Linked DNA regions of Homo sapiens: region 2 is linked to region 1. The links are contacts of gene promoters, found by promoter capture Hi-C in blood cells and fetal thymus (Javierre and others, 2016). All regions are on one chromosome and are shown on one strand. The core of a region is centred on a gene start or on the middle of the fragment in contact, and the rest is flanking DNA. Distances in the headings are between cores, read along the strand shown.

Region 1 (5,505 bases), core at 727-3,226:
ATCTGCATACAAACTAAGGAACCTATGTAAATTCATATACTAGTTATGGTGGGGCCAGGATCTCAACCCAGACAGTCCGATTCCCAAACAGGCATGGTTAATGGTTACGCTATTGTTTTATAAGCCTTTTTGAGATCCACAGTGAGAAATATATTTCACCTCATGATCCTGATTTTGTTTCACACAAAAGTGAAACAACTTCTACAAAACAGCATTGACCTTAATATGTAGCAAAAACTTTAAGATGTTGATTTCCAGTCATGAAATTCTCTCATGACCCACGATTTAAAAAACACACAATGCTTAAGTGCTTCAAAAATACAGTATTTATTGTAATAACTACAGTAGCAAGAAGAAAAAAACGAAGTGGAACTACGTGTTTAGCAGCAGAGCTGAATAATTATGAATATAAACAATTACTATTGGGAGAAAATACATTACACTCATTGCTTGGAACCATGAATAATACTTATATATGTACGAAATATAGAAAAATAAAATAGGTTAACATAATAAGGATATAGGCAATTATTTTTTTTAATTTTATAAAAACTTTTATTTTTCCTTACAAACTGGGGTAGTTAGGAGACCTGATAATAGCTTTTTTATTTTCTTGGCACCAAAGCAACTTACTTATGTGTTCCTTCTTGCATTATCTGTTCCAGATCATAGTCAAGTTTTCCAATTCGTTTTACTAAGCTAGCAAAATTTTTTATACCAAAAAGAGTAAAATCAAAACAAATGCTCCTTTGTTTATAGATGAAAATCTGGAGCAAAATAACACAACATTAAAAAAACAAAACTTTGCAAACACATCCTAAAGCTACACACATTGAAGCGTTTACAGCAATATGCTCCCTGGGTTCGTTCTCCCTTCCCCCAATCCTCTAAACTGTGCCTTTGGGTCTCAGACCCTTGTCCCGGGGGTCCCTCTGAATCCACCTTTCAAGAGGATGGAGCTGGGCCACTAGGCTGAGGTCTGGCCCTGTTCTCCTCATCTGCCAAAGCCTCACAGTACTGCGCTGGCCAGTCCTTGGGGTCTTGATTATGGACCTTGGCCACAAACTTAAGAACTTTCATCTTGCTGGTTTCCAGGTTGGTTCGCGGGCCCCACTGGAATTCGTAGTCGACGGGGTCGGTGTGGGGTATCCGCCGGTATTCCAGGTAACGCTGTCGCACAAAGTCCTCAGTAATGAGTTTCTTTGGATCTCCGAAAATTAAATGCTTCTTGGTGGGGTAGACCCCTAAGCGCCGCAGAAAGTCCCAGGCTTCAGTTTCCTTGATGGTGTTGCCCTTCATAAAGATGAGCCCTAAGACGATCATCAGGAGGCCCGTAGTGGGCGTGCCTTGGTCACCCCTCATCTCGGCATCCTCCTCCACAGGCTCCAGGGTGTTGATGAGGATGTAAGTGTTGCTCTTGGGTTCAAGTTCCACCAGCTTATACCCGAAGACGTACTGGAGGCGCTCGGCGGCCCGTTTGAAGAGGTCGGGGAAGATGTCCTTGTAGTCCCCGATGACGTGCTTCAGTATGTCGGCCCGCTTGATCGGAATCTTCTTCTGGTCTTTAATCAGCAAGAACTGCACCAGCTCGGACACTTTCAGCTCCAGCTGCTTCTGGCTCCTGGGCCCCACGGCGGGGGCGGCCTGGGCCCGGCGGGCGCCCTGAGGCGAGGGGCCCTGCGACCCCTGCGAGCCGCCCGGCCCGCGGGACGTGCTCGGGGCCTCCTCGGCAAAGCCGTCTCTGAGAACCCGGGCGTCTTCCCCGGCCCGCGAAGCCCCGGGGTTTCCGCTATGGCTCCAGTCTCTGTCCCTCTCGGCCTGGCCGCCAGAGCGGCCCCGGTTCCTCGGTTTTTGCAACATGTCTCCGGCGGCAGGTGCCGGCGCACACTCCGGTAGGCAAGCAGCCGCGGCGGGGATTGCGGGTCGGCGACCCGCTAACGCCGGTGCCTGGAGGCGCGCGCAGTGTCGGCTGAGACTGCGTGCTGCGTCATGAAGCCTGCGCCTTGCGTCAGGGCGGCTGGGCGGTGCGCCTGCGCGGCTGCGGCGGGTACCAAAAGGAACAGCGTTTTCCGTGCAGCCCTGCAGGTCCGGGCGATGATTTTTAGTATAGTGAAGTGTTGTTACCAAACCATGCAAACAGAGAGCGAGAACCGAAACTCCTAAACAAGTGTGTCGCTAAATTCAGACCACACAGGCTCAGGCAAGTTTTACAGACAGTATTATGAGTTTCTAAATCGGGAGCATTTGTAAACGGAAAGAATTCAGAGGATGAACGTGTGAGAAAAAAAAAAGGTGAAGAGGAAGGGCCGACCGTGGAAGTAAAGTAAAAACATTTATTTCTACACAAAATGTAGAAGGACATAAAAGACCCAGAGGGCTCTTAGTTTTCGTCCCTCCACCCAATTTCATACCCTCCATCCCACTGCCCCCAGTTACTTTCTCTAATGCCCCGTGGAGTCTGTTAAAAACCAAAGTCGGCTGCAGGCTTTCTGCGCAAGCAGGACTTCAGTTTCACTATTTCCGTATTTATATTCTCTGCATTAAACTCCTTTAGCTAGACAACTATGAGAAGACCACAAAAAACGTGTCAGTATTAGGTAAATGTTTTAGCTTGGTCACATGGGTTTATCTTTTGGAAAACAACTGCTTTCGTCACAACCACAATTTTAGCAGAAATGGGTAAGAGGAATGCTGCAAACAAACGTGCACTCTCAAGAGATTACTACTTAATTTGGGGCATCACTGATCAAGAATTGCAATAATGTGGAGCTCTTAAATTTCTTAATTCATAATATATTAGCTTTGAGGAAAAAAAAGAGAACACTGGGGGATTTATCTCTCATCTATGATGTGATATACAGTCTCTACTGTATATTTTAATTGTGCAACTCAAGTAGCCAAAATGAGTCATTTCATTAACTCAAACCATCAGCAGTCTGCTGCCATGACTTCTACAGATCTTAGCAAATTTGTTTCTTCTCTATTTACTTGCAAAGAAGAAACTGAATTTCCCTGTGTCTTTTTAAAGCTACCCAGAAAGTGGATAAACTCTTCAAAGAACCAAATTGAGTTCCTCTTTAATGCAAATATATTCAAAGGAAAGCAATTTAGAACACATTATCTGAGTAATAGCATCAAACACAACCTTATTAAAATTTTGTTAATTGTTAGTAGCATAACACTTTTGTTTGTAATTCAGTAGGAAAATGCAATCTGATAATGGCACTGGAACTGCAATAGTAAATGTAAAATCATATTCCATGAACTAATGCAAGTATGCTAAAATCTGGTATGCAATGAGTAATAACTTACTGTTCCACACAAGATGCAACTATATCCTCAGGCATCAATTTTAATGACAAAGGCCTACTATGAAAAACAAATATATTATCAAGGCATTCATTTTTTTACAATGAGAAAATTCATCTGCTTCAGTTTCCTTGCAAATTAAAATCTGGACTTAGGTTCATAGAAGCTTCCTGCCATCTAGAATTCTGCAAAAGGTCCCTACTGCAGGATGTGGATGTTGTATTGAGGGAATAGAGAGACCGTCTCATATTGTTTTATATTGTTTTATACTCAGTACCTGTTTTAAGAAAAAACAACAAGGAAGTAAAACCAAATACAGGCAGCCCAGCGCCAGGCCCAAAACCAGGCCTGGGCCTGCCTGGCCTAAACCCAGTAGTTAAAAATCAACTCATAACTTAGAAACCGATGTTATTCATAGATTCCAGACATTGTATAGAAGAACATTGTATAAAGAACAGAACTGCCCTGTTCTGTTTCTCTCTGACCACCGGTGCATGTAGCCCCTGTCACATACCGCCTGCTTGCTCTGATCAATCACGACCCTTTCATGTAAAATCTTTAGTGTTGTGAGCTCTTTAAAGGGACAGAAATTGTGCATTTGGGGAGCTCGGATTTTAAGGCAGTAGCTTGCCGATGCTCCCAGCTGAATAAAGCCCTTCCTTGTGCAACTCGGTGTCTGAGAGATTTTGTCTGCGGCTCGTCCTGCTACAGTGCCTTGAGTCAAAAAAGTTCAGTGACCGAGATATAAGGGGAAAGTGGAAAATTAGATAAAAGCTATTGTCAACAGTTGGGCTGGTTTTTCAGTGCTCTTTCTTGCTAAGGTATTCATGTACGTTACCAAGCAGCCCACCAGTCAGACTACCCCTGTCACTGTGAAAATCAGCAGTGTCCTCCAGCAGCACGCTTACCTAGATAGCAGACTGTCATTACTCAAGATAGAGGAGAAGAGATACCAGTTTTTAAGTCTCAAAACATCTCTCTACACTCTTTCCAGAAGAATGCAGGTGAGAAAATGCAGACATAAAATAAGAGTATTAGAATGAAGTTTTAGGCCCTGCATGGAGAAGTCATCCAGACCCACATTCCACCTTGGATTGATACTGGAAGCCATGGATGTCTGGGGAGAAACTGTGGTGATAACAATACTAACATTAGTAACAATAAATATAACCGACAACAGCCAATGATTATAGTAGTTGCTGCTCCATCTCCATGTCTGCAGTTTTACTTTCTGTGGTTTCAGTTACCTGCAGTCAACCACAGTCCGAAAATATTAGGATATTTTCAAAGAGAAACCACAATATAACTTATTACACTATATTTGTTCTACTTTATTGTTAGTGTCAACTGAAGGATGACGAGGTTCATAAATTTGGAAAGAGCTTTATTTCTCATAAAGGGTTGCAGTCTGCGGGGCGGCCATTCCAACAGGCTAGGAAGACAACCTCATGCTAGAAGCCAGAAACAGACACTTCAAGGGAGGGCAAAGGGAGCAGGAATCTATGCAGAATGGGGTGGCCAAATATACATATTTAATAAGCTATAGGAGGAGTCATGAACATTTATGCAAGGAGAAATGTGCATATGCGCAATTGCACTTCATGTCTCTCCCTGGGACCCATATTCCAAAATTGGCAGTGTTAGCATGATCCAGGGTAGGAGTTTTCAGCCCTCTGACATCAAAAGGTGAAGTAGAGGACATGAAAACCCTGACTGCATGTCTTCCATAGACTGGCCAGAACTACTCCATGGTTGGTGGTCTTTTACCAGGAAGAACTGCTGGTCAATTGTGCCAAAACTGCAAAAGGGAGGGGCAGCATCAGGTGGTTGGTTTATACCAGCAGTGGAGTCTTTTGAAAGGGCTGATTTCTGTTTAGCTCTTAGGGAAGAAAGCCTAATGGCATTTAGAGCGGGTGAGGGTTTCCAAGGTTATTCGGGGTCCCCTTGGCCAAGAGGGGGTCTGTTCAGTCAGCTGGAGGGCTTAAGATTTCATTTTTCTCATCAATTATTGTTAATCTCTATTATGACTAATTTATAAATTAAACTTTTTTTTTTTTTTTTTGAGATGGAGTTGCGCTCTGTCGCCCAGGCTGGAGTGCAGTGTCACGATCTTGGCTCACTGCAACCTCCGCCTCCTGGGTTCAAGAGATCCTCACATCTCAGCCTCCCGAGTAGCTAGGATTACAGGTGTGTACC
Region 2 (5,383 bases), core at 1,623-4,122, about 19 Mb after region 1:
GTCCCGGGGAGGGGCGGTGGGTGGGGCGGGGCTGGCGGGAAATTTCGGTTTTGGCGCGCTCCCTGCGGCGACGCTCATCGTGCGCTCTCCTCTTCCCCCGGTGGTCTCCTCGCTCGCCTTCTGGCTCTGCCATGCCCTGCTCTGAAGAGACACCCGCCATTTCACCCAGTAAGCGGGCCCGGCCTGCGGAGGTGGGCGGCATGCAGCTCCGCTTTGCCCGGCTCTCCGAGCACGCCACGGCCCCCACCCGGGGCTCCGCGCGCGCCGCGGGCTACGACCTGTACAGGTGAGCGGGGACCTGCCGGCGAGGAGGCTGGGAAGGGCCGGCCGTCCGCTGCCACAGCTAGAAACAGTCACCGGAGAGATCACAGGAACACACTAGCTATAAATAGGATTTCTGCCTTTTTCGTGTTTAAAATTTTAGCTTTCATCTTTGGCATAAATTAAATAGAGATTTGGGCAAAGACTGCAGAATAAGTAAAATAGCTATACGGTGTCTAGCAAGGCGTTACTTTGCAACGTTTATTGTGCCCTTCCTAAATAGAAGATAGAGAGGAAGGCCCATGGTGGCTTTCGAGTGGCCCGAGGGTGATGCTGTGCTCAATAGAAAAACCAAGGTGAGAGCCTAGATGTGAGCGTGAAAATACCTAAGAAGGATGAACGAAGATGCATCTGCCTTAAAAAGTTATTTTCTATACATTCATCCGGCCCAGGGCGGAATTTGAGAAGGCATCTGAAAACGAAAGGCAGAGCTGCCTGTAATCTACCACACTTTCATCTCTACAGCACGTTTTACCTGTACTAAAAACTTTCCGTATGCTGTTGTATTTAGTCCTCACAACAATCCTTAACTAGATAAGTGTTACTTTTTACACAGGCAGGAGTTTGTGAAGAGCTGAATTGATTTCCCCAGAGGCTTGAAGATGATATAATTTTTTATCCCGAATTTTGGGCTTTTTTTTTTTCATCTGACTACTGTGCCCAGTTCTTAGAACCATTAAGGTAGGAGAAAAGTAATGCTGAGAGGGAAGGAGATTTTATACTAAATCCCAAGCATTGGGATTTATTTTAAAGTATCTCAGATAATTCAAACATGAGAACTATTAGTCTAAGCACAGGAGAAGAGAAAGTAGTGCCTGATGATAGCAACAGAAAAAAAAGGAAAAGGAAAGTAGGTATGGACAATTGTAGCTGGAAAAACTACAGTCTCTTAATTTTGATGAATAAAAGTAGAGTGATATAGTTTGACTAGACCTTTCCAAAGTATATTTTGGAGCACTTTCTTGAGTCCTAGGGGAGTCCTTGATTTAAGATACCTTAAGTAGACTCCTAATAAACACAGGTGACTTTCTGTATACTGAAATTGACATGGAAATAATGGATCAGCAATAAATTAGGGCTTAACTGTTTAAAGAGGGATTTCAGTGAAAGAAGGGGTAGTACTGCTTTACCAGAGTTAATTAAGGTCTCCAAAGTAAACTTCCGGTTCTGCTCATTGTAAAATCTCTTAAATTTCTACCCAGGAGAGGGCCACAGTAATATCAAGAGTAGCAGCATTTGCTATGTGGACTTTAGAGGAATTCTGTTCCTAAGCAAGGTCCATCTCCAGGGGCCGTTCACGGTGATCAGCTGTCTCCCTCAGCCAGGAAATTCATAGCCTAAGCTTGGTAAACTACCAAGCCCTGCCTGACAGATACAACACAGTTCTTTATCTCTTATTTTGTCCACCCGTTTTTCTCCTTTCCTTCTGCATATTTTCCCTAATCACACAGATCATTGTGAGAATAAAATGGGTTAATATATGTAAACCAATTAGAACTGTTCCTGGCACACAGTAAAGGCTTAATCAATGATAGCTAGTATTATTAGTAGTATTTGGCCTTTTTTCTTTGTTCTTTCTTCATTTTTTTCCTTTTCAAACTATGGTTGTAAAGCATCCACCTTTTGAAAGTTTGCCTTTCTGCCCTTTCACGCTGATAAGTACCTCAGTTTCCAATAAACTTTTGTTCAGGGGCAAACATTTACAATGTTGACATCTCTTCACACCACCAAAAATATTCATGGAGAATTATTTTATCTAAAGCTGTCTTTTTAATAATAAAATAGCCACCTCTACCTTCTTCATAAACTTTTAAGATGAATTGGTAATTCATCATAGCAAGGTTGATTTTAGAAACTAAAGTTGCATTAATTCATTAAATACACTGAAAGTAATTTTGTATGCTTGGTCACAAAGAAAATATAAAAACAATTTTATAAATAGATTTGCAGTTATTTTCTTTCAATATTTTCTTAGTGCCTATGATTACACAATACCACCTATGGAGAAAGCTGTTGTGAAAACGGACATTCAGATAGCGCTCCCTTCTGGGTGTTATGGAAGAGTGGGTAAGTCATTTAAGAAACAGGTAACTATTTGTCAAGTTCTCCTTTGTGATAGATTCTTCATGTTTCATTTGGGGTAATAAGCAGGCAATATTGCTTGGGCTGTGTCCTAAAAGAAGCACCATTTGTGATAGCAAATGCACTCTTTGAAAGGCTTTATTTACATCTCTGCTTTGCCTCTTTTTGACCCTTTTATTTTTCTCCTTCCTCACTGGAGCTTTTAGGCTCACACTGGCCTAGAAGGCTGTTCTCAGAACATGGCATTTTATATTATGAGAGTAAAACTTCTGACCTGTTGGTCCCAGAATGTGTAAGCCTACTTAACCTTTTCTTGTTTGGCCATGGGGTTAGGGTAAGGGATACTCTTCAGTGTTGTAGAGGCACTGGGAGGAGCTAGGACAAAATGGAGTACACGTCAACAGGTTTGATTTTTCTGGAGCGGATCAGTTGTTACCAGACAGTTCTTTGCAAGAGCGTAAGTTCTTTTTGACTAACTTCAGAGTAAACATAAAGGAGGCAATGGAGCTGTGACGCCCTCCTCCAGGGAAAGGAGCTAGACTGGCACTATATTATTAGCCATGAGTGAGGAAACTGCCAGTACTTCAGCCCTTAAAAGATAACAAGATGGGCTCTCATCTCATCTCTTGAGCATCATTGACTCCATTTTTTAGAATTTTTTCAGGGGAAGGGGCAGGAGATGGAGTGAAATAAAGGTTAGTACAGAAAGAGGCAGCATTATTGACAAAGTGCCTGATTTAAATTATTCTAAAATAAAATGCTGGAAGTTAGGATAATTAATTATAGGCCTGATGCTTGAGTCTGCAATAATAAGGTGTAACCTTAGCTTTTTATTTTTTTCATTTTTTAGGATTAAAAAGTATACTAGCATTGAATCATTGAGACTTAGTTTTTGGCATTTTTACTTAACTGATATTAGCCCATTTATCTTACTCTGGTTCATGTGTTTCCTACAGGCATGTCTTTTGGCATCTGAATCATGAATAGTGGGGTCCCAAGTTGTAGGCTATGGTCTGCTACTATTTGGTTAGGTTTGTTTCCCTCTCCCTTCCTCTTCCTTTCCCTTCCCATCTGCATTGTACATGTTGTGGTGTCCCATCTTAAAACCAAAGTCTTCTTCCTCAGTAGTGTGTTCCTGCTGGCCATACTTCTCTTTCTTCCCCTTTGAGGCTTAACTTCTTGAAAGAGCAGCCTACAGTTGTTCCCGCTTGCTCACCTTTCAGCTCATTCTAGCAGTCCTTCTCCCCTGTCTGCAGCACCACAAATTCTGACTGAAGTCACATGGGAGTGGTTTAAGTTAGTTTTGAATTAAAACCTTGTGGAATTTTTCTAAACTAGTCTTTCCAACTTTGGTAATGCAGTATGATGAATATATATTCTTTAATTCAAAACCATGTGCTAAAGTTAAGATGAAGATATAGATATTATAGGTGAAGAGAATGACATGCTTAAATTGCATCAGTTATCTCTGATATAGCCCTTCCCCCTTAAAATAACCAATGTCTCCTTTTTTGTTTTTTAGCTCCACGGTCAGGCTTGGCTGCAAAACACTTTATTGATGTAGGAGGTAATATATTTCCTTTTTTATTCTGTAAATGTTTGCAAGTATTTACTTTGTCTTTAAAAGGTAATATTCAAATGACAGATTTTATTTTTAAGAAAAGAAAATGATTAGAGGAAAGCTTGTTATAATAGGAGGAAAAGCTTTGTGGTTATTTTAAGTAATTATATTTTGTTTAACTACTAACTTAATTTTTAAAATAATGATTACCTAATTAATAATGACAGATTTAATGATATAATAATTAAGTAATTATTTAAGCAACAAAAGTTCTAGAAAACACAGGTCTATCTTGTAAGAATTTTCTTCATAAGAGAGCTATCTGTCTTTAGCAAAATTTAAGAAGAAAATCTTTCCCTGAAGTCAGGAGAGAAAACACTTTTCTCTAAATTTGTTAAGACAGTCCTCTGTGTTACCTGTTTCCCTTATAATAAAGCCTTTCTCATGTTTGTCTCAAAGTTAACCCTACCTCATGTGGTACCTTTCATGAAGAACCCTCAGTGTCCTCTGCTAACTACTCTTGATACAGAGCTACTCCTCTTATTGTAAGGAAATTTCTACTTTCCTGATGTGGTTTCCTTGTTTCAGGTCCGCTCCAACTGGGATTCAGACCCCACTTATGTGGTCCTTACATACTGACCCTTTATCCCATCAGTAGTGAATCTTTCACTTAACAAGATACCTTGGCCCCCACATAAGTAGGTGTGCTAGATCTCCTCCTCCACCCGTTTTTACAGAGCTGCTTTATGGAGGCTTGTTAACAGATCAGGAAAACTGGCTTAGAAATGAGCCCACATGGATATGTGGTAAAAACTGGAGTCTCTGTGTGATTCCAGCCTCCTTGTTCTTTCCACTGCAATTAATTGTGGAGATTACCCTGCTGCATCCCCCTCACCAACTAAACACGTCCAGAATTAGCTCACTTTTATGTGCCACTGCAAGGGCTAACTAAGCACTTAATGAAACCTGGCTATCCTAGACCTGCCCCTTAGTCTAACATTTGGTGGGTGTGGTGTCTCTCCATAGTGTCACCAGGTGGTGCTGTGGGACAAGACAGGACCCCAAAAGTACACCCTTTAGGGACTAAAGGGGAGCTGAGTTTTACATAGCAGGGTGGACATTGACAGCCCACTCTTGGGTTGAGGATTCCTTGGGCTCTGTAAGTTATGCCCGATGTTCAAAAATGCTTTTACAAGGTCAACTGTGGTCATTTTGGGACAGTAACTTAAGGATATAAATAATTGTATATATTTTCAATGAAGTTTCAAATGATTGTTCAAGGAACGGGAGCTTTGGAATAACAACTGGATGTAGGTCCCAGCTCTGTCATTAACTAGTTATTACTTAACCTTTCTGAGCCTGTTTCCTCATTTTACAATGGAAATTAGTGTGCCTGCCTCTAGAGGTAGGAGGATTAAA

Evidence for each region. Contacts are between HindIII fragments. The CHiCAGO score rates a contact against its expected background, and 5 or more counts as called.
Region 2: a contact is called between a fragment that was not itself captured here and the fragment with the promoter of NSMCE3 in region 1, in 1 of 17 cell types (total CD4 T cells). The highest score is 9.7, in total CD4 T cells.

Annotation. Positions count from the first base shown.
Region 1 is chr15:29,267,846-29,273,350 of GRCh38, forward strand. It overlaps NSMCE3 (NSE3 component of SMC5/6 complex), which reads right to left and starts at 1,977. Exons shown (of 1, transcript NM_138704.4): 1 at 1-1,977. The coding sequence starts at 1,860. The coding sequence ends at 946. The region is part of intron 2 of ENTREP2 (endosomal transmembrane epsin interactor 2); the gene reads right to left. RefSeq lists enhancers at 1,272-1,773, 1,774-2,273. The HindIII fragment of the contact is 8,019 bases long and covers 1-3,473 here.
Region 2 is chr15:48,332,121-48,337,503 of GRCh38, forward strand. DUT (deoxyuridine triphosphatase) reads left to right here. Exons shown (of 7, transcript NM_001025248.2): 2 at 148-286; 3 at 2,297-2,388; 4 at 3,926-3,970. Among named protein-coding and RNA genes, the nearest start is that of DUT-AS1, 3.0 kb to the left of the region's middle. RefSeq lists silencers at 1-86, 4,897-4,966 and an enhancer at 1-86. The HindIII fragment of the contact is 2,422 bases long and covers 1,662-4,083 here.